Regions from separate parts of the Homo sapiens genome. Here region 2 is linked to region 1. The links are contacts of gene promoters, found by promoter capture Hi-C in blood cells and fetal thymus (Javierre and others, 2016). All regions are on one chromosome and are shown on one strand. Each heading gives the region's core, a stretch centred on a gene start or on the middle of the fragment in contact. The rest is flanking DNA. Distances are from core to core; before and after follow the strand shown.

Region 1 (2,927 bases), core at 134-2,633:
ATTTTAACCTAGGAACCACTGACCCACTGACCGGAAAACCTTATTTGTCTGTTGACAACAAAAACACAAGTCCAAAGTCAATTCTAAGCACTATTTCTGCTAAATATTAGATTTGAAATGCCTTCATTTTTCTTGAATAAAAAGATGAATGGACAGGTAAATAAAAGGAGGAACATAATTAGCTGGGCACATTCTTCTAGCTTCCTGCACCAGATGTTTGGACAGGATTTCAAAGAGAAGAAAAATCAGGGCTTGGGTAAGGTGGTGTAACCAGGACTCAGGATCCTACATACCTACCTCCTCCCTCTGATACGGGACTATTGTTTTCCCTTCTTTCCATTTACTGAGTTCTCTCTGGGGTCATCTAAAGGGAAAGGCCAGAGAACACACACTGGGCCTACAGAGGAAGAGCTTCATTCTGGAAAACTGCTGGTGGTTGCGGGTATTTCAAACCAAGAGAAGTCAGCAGAGGCTGATATTAAGAGGCATTGCTATAGTTTATGGAAAATGGTCAGTCAATTAACAAGGTAGAGCTAAATTTTTGGAAGTATATTTTATAAGTTTTTCTTTTTCATCTCTGCTCAGTATATTTATTTTTTGTATTTACTTCATTTGGCTTTTTGTGTGGCACTGGACTTAGCGCCAAGCAGTCCTGCAGGGGAAAGGCACTTCAGCATATTTTAGATAGTCCTCCTTTGAGGTACTATTCATTTGGGGACTCACATCAAACTACTGGAGGCCAGGAAAATCTAGATGTAACAAAGGTAAGTACTGAGACTTTTACCAGGAGGCCATCATCAGGAATTCTAGGAACTCACGGCTGGCCAATGGCATAGAATTATTTTGGTTGTTCCTACATGTGCAAGATGGGTACATGTACAAGGTTGATAAGATATAGATGGGAGTGAGTGAATCATAAAGCCTGAGGAACTAGAGAATCTGAGAAGGAGAGCAGTGTAAGGTCTTGACCCTGTTTCTCAGGACTTCCAGACTTCCCATATTGCCTTGAAACGGAGACAGAGCCCTTACCTCATATGGGAAGGGGCATAGCTTCCAGGTAAAGAGGTTCAAGAAGCCAAAGAAAGAAAAGTTGCTTCTTCTGGCCAGGATGAATGTAGGTGTGTGTATGGCTGTCTCTAGGATCAGAGATCAAAGGCTCCTCCAGTCACTGGCACTGCAAGTCCTCTCTGGAAGTAGAGATAGATGCAGACAGGCAGCTGAGAACCTAGGGCAGGATCCTGCAGAAGTGAGGAGCTGAATCTCTTCCAAAGTTCTCTCATTCACTGTCCTTGCGAGAAAGTCCTTACTGCTTTGGAATGGTTCTAGCTGAGTTCTTAAGTCCAGGTCCTCAGATTTCATATATTCCCCTCATGCTGTGTTTCATGATAAAAGAGGAGCACAGCAGGAATGTGAGAAAAGAGGTATAAGAAGAGCTGCTTAAAAGAGACCCACCAATGCCCAGCCTTACTGTCTCTGCGCCAACAGTGAGGCCTGTCCTGGGGGAGGGTTCATAGTCTCACCCTCTCAGCTGACATGACCTCCCCTGAAAATATTGCTCCAGGAAATGGGATTTTAATAAATCCCCTTGGGCATGTCTCCTGGCCTGCCATTTCTTCAAACTTTACCACCAAATGAGCTCTGAACCTTGAGGCCTTGTTCTGCCCGCCATGGGCTTGCTGTGTCTCACCACTCATTGGAGTCTAAGATCTTTCTCCTGCCTTACAAAACCAAAACTATAATTTTAACCTAGAAATCACTGACCGGAAAACCAGACAGAGGCTGTTTCTGACAAAATAGATAGTGTCAGTAACCAATCTGAAAAGCAACACCTCCCTGTCCAGCCCTCTGTCCAAAATATAAAGTCTGTCTCATGGGTTCTATAGATGCTGCCACTCACATATCCCTCTTTGTGCCACTAGCCTGGGCTATTACCAACTAGAGGGAGTTAACTATGCTTCTGTTAATATCAGGTCTTCCTTCACTGAGCTTTAATGAGGATCCAGCACTAATTTATTTTTCAGTTCTTTGTTTCTCCTTTCTACTCCCTCTTGTGTGTGTTCATTTGTTCATGGGCCTACATATTCTGTGATCAGTCAGCTGAGCTGCTCAGAGCTTTGGGATGATGACACAGCACCTGCTTGCACTCACTTCTGCTTTTAGTTCAGGCTTTCCCATCTCTCACCCAATTCTGTGCTTAATCTTCCTCATTCTTTAGTATCTCTTTAATCAGCCATTTCACCAGGAAATGCTGAAAATTTCTTCCGGAGTTATCATATCTTTTCTCTTTGAACTTAAAAAAAATAAAAATAAGTTTCCACTTTCTGTTTATATAAAATATATACTCAAAATTATTTCAGAAGTGCAACAGAAGAACTAATATAAAAATCTTTTTATTTTTTAATTATAAAAGGAATGTACTGAAAAGACGGTTTTAAACATGTAAATTATAAGAGCAGCATTATTCACAGTACAATAAAAATTAGAAACGACCTTTATGCCCATCAACAGTGGAATAGATAGATATGCACCAAAGGGTTACTATGTAGGAATCTAAACAAAGGAACCAGAGCATACAACAAAAAAAGCAACTTAGGAAACTAATATTAAGGGAAGCAAGAGACACCTTAGGATTATATATCGTGGTACTTCTTTTGCAGTGTTAAGAACTTAAGTGAAAATAAACTTCCTATAAATATGTGTACATTCAATAAAACTACATATAAATGAAGAAAGAAAATGATGGACATGAAATTTGCGTTAATAGTTATAGTGAAAGGAGGCAGAGAGCTGGACTGCTAAATGTGGTCGAGTCCAAATCTTCTACTACTTGCCACACGACAGCCAATAAGTGGAGAGAAAAGGTGTTGGGGCAAGGAAGACAACTTTATTTCAGAAAGCCAGCAAACTGAGAAGATGGTGGACTAACA
Region 2 (2,723 bases), core at 214-2,713, 250 kb before region 1:
CTGTTTTTCTCACTTATAAGTGGGAGCTAAATGATGAGAACTCATGGACACAAAGAGGGGAACAACAGACACTGGAGCCTACTTAAGGGTGGAGGGTGAGAGGAAGGAGAGGAACAGAAAAAAACAACTATTGGGTACTAGGATTAGTACCGTGATGAAATAATCTGTACAAAAAACTCCTGTGATAGGAGTTTACCTATATAACAAACCTGCACATGTACCCCGGAATCTAAAATAAAAGTTTAAAAAATGGAATAAATTTTGAATACAGGTAAATAAGTAGCAGTTAAAACACTAATAGTAGTCTTTAAGAAACATACATCCAACTGAGAAAACTGTTACTTAAATGAGGCAAAATTTGTATGGCCTTTTAACTAAATTACAAAATAATTTCAATAGCCCCACTTACACACAAAAGTATGAAAATTAACCCCTTTTCAATAGAAATGTATACATTGACTAGATTCTAATCACTAAAAGAATACTCAGGATATTATTAATAAAATAGTTGCAACATATTCTCCAGTCTTAAACGGCGTTCTCCAATATTTTCCAGAGAACATTTTACAACTAAACAAGAGAGTATTACTGTTACTATTTGATGTCCTTACAATTTTATCGGAAGTTTTCTGCAGTTCAAAACTCAGAAAGCACGATCAGCTAATCACTTTTCTCATCTGTCAGGTGTCAGATTCAAAAACCTTAAACTTTAGTATGGCAATATCCTACCAAGATTGGAATAACTTTTTGATATTTGTGGTAAGATAAATCTGTTACACTGAAAAGAGACAAAGGATTGCCTAATTTTAATTATATAATCTCTTGATGTACGTTTTGGTTGGGATGCCTGAAATTAGCTTGGAGATACAATGCAAAAATATGAAAACTGTGATTTTTGCAAGGGGACTGCACAGGGAAGGTCTCTTTGGAGTATGAGGTATGAGCAGTAGGACTAGGAAGAGGAAGTATAGAGGGAAGCAGTGTGACTGTGAGTAGATTTATAGATGAGAGAGAAGGAAAGATTTTTTTTTCCTTGCCGCTCTGTGAGAAAGCAACCTTGGAGGTATGAGGAGTCATATAAATATGTTTAACAAGAAGCTTTGCTCTGTGTGGAATGTCTGAGTCACTCATTCAAGGAAACCTATAGTAAAGATCTGTATCATTGAAGCCTTTCAAGTTGGATTGATATTTTAAAATTCAACTCCATGTTGACTCATATGTATTATATCAATACATATAAATTTTCAATTGAAGCCCCAAATCCCTTAGAAATGGCAGGTAAATTACATTCCTTTGATTTAGTTGATTTCAAATTTCTTCTTATGGCCAGGCACAGTGGCTCACACCTGTAATCCCAGCACTTTGGGAGGCCAAAGTGGGAGAGTTACTTGAGGCCAGGAGTTTGAGGCCAGTGTGAGCAACATAGTGAGACCCTGTCTCTACAAAAAAATTTACAAATCAGCCAGGCATGGTAGTGTGCACCTGTAGTCTCAGCTACTCAGGAGGCTGAGGTGGAAGGATTGCTTGATCTCAGGAGTTTGAGGCTGCAGTGAGGCATGATCACACCACTGCATTCCAGCCTGGGTGACAGAGATACCAAATCTAAAATTTAAAAAAAATTTTCTCATTATAAGCAAAGTTTATTTCATTCTTACCTTGGCTATGAAGTTAGTGATTTTTGTTTTGTTTTGTTGGTATGTTCTTTTACCAAATTCCATTAAAAATAGACTAGCTTTTCTTTCCATTGCTTGGAATCACAATTGACTTTGTATAGCACCATATTGCCTGAGCACTCTCATAGGTCTTGGCACCTAGAATCACTGCTCTTCAAGCTTGTCTTATATTTTGGAGCTCACAAAACAGACAATTACTAACTTCAAAGGTAGAGAAGAAGTAACAGCACCCATCTTCACAGAATTTGAAAGTAGAATATCAGGAAGAGAACCCCTGTCTCTCAAATTTCTGCTTATCCCTTTTTTCATCTCTTCTCTCTGTGTATCTTTCCAGTTCCTCTGCCCTGATTCCTGAGTCCAGTTATCTCTCCTTCCTTTGGACTTTCTGTTCCCTTATAACTACTTCTTTCAAATAACTTAAACTTTTTATGACACCGACTCCATCCTTGACTTTATATGATATTTGAGTTTTCCTGTCCGTGAGACTGATTTAGTTCAAACTTCAAGACAAGGAGTATGATTGATTCAGCTTCTCCTGTAGATTGCATGCTTTATTCATAAGCTATGGCAAGGGGATGTGTCATGGTGCAAAATAACTGGCTTTTAGCTATAGGCAAGGGTAGATCCTCTTAGAAGGCTGTGTATGGTGGGGGAGGTTGCAGTCTTCAGCTATGCTTGTGTTTGGCTATAAACGTCTATTATATGGGCCTGAGTATGGGGGTTGATTTTGGATTAAGTAATCTTAACTCAAAACTACGTACGCACCTATAACTAAAAAATTCATGATGCAGCTAGATTCAGCTGCAGTGGCCTAAACAAAATAAAACAAAACAAAACAAGAAGTCTTGAAGTAGGTGCTTCCAGAGTTTGTTCTGTGGCTCAAAAGTGGTCATCAAGTACCAGGTTCTTTGTATCTTTCCATCACTCTTTCCTGCTTTTAGCTATATTTAAGAGCAGATTCTGTAAGAGAGTTATGTGTGGCGGAGGAGGCCACAATAAAGTGGTTTTCATTTTTTTTGTTTTTTCATTCTCAGGCTTGTTGCCTCATAG

Evidence for each region. The method cuts DNA at HindIII sites, captures the fragments that hold promoters and counts their contacts. A CHiCAGO score of 5 or more calls a contact.
Region 2: a fragment that was not itself captured here is called in contact with the fragment with the promoter of OR2AG2 in region 1 in 1 of 17 cell types (activated CD4 T cells); the score reaches 5.1 in activated CD4 T cells.

Annotation. Positions count from the first base shown.
Region 1 is chr11:6,770,593-6,773,519 of GRCh38, forward strand. It overlaps OR2AG2 (olfactory receptor family 2 subfamily AG member 2), which reads right to left and starts at 1,384. Exons shown (of 2, transcript NM_001004490.2): 1 at 1,030-1,384. The HindIII fragment of the contact is 9,473 bases long and covers 1-2,927 here.
Region 2 is chr11:6,522,381-6,525,103 of GRCh38, forward strand. The region is part of intron 10 of DNHD1 (dynein heavy chain domain 1); the gene reads left to right. Among named protein-coding and RNA genes, the nearest start is that of DNHD1, 26 kb to the left of the region's middle. The HindIII fragment of the contact is 734 bases long and covers 1,097-1,830 here.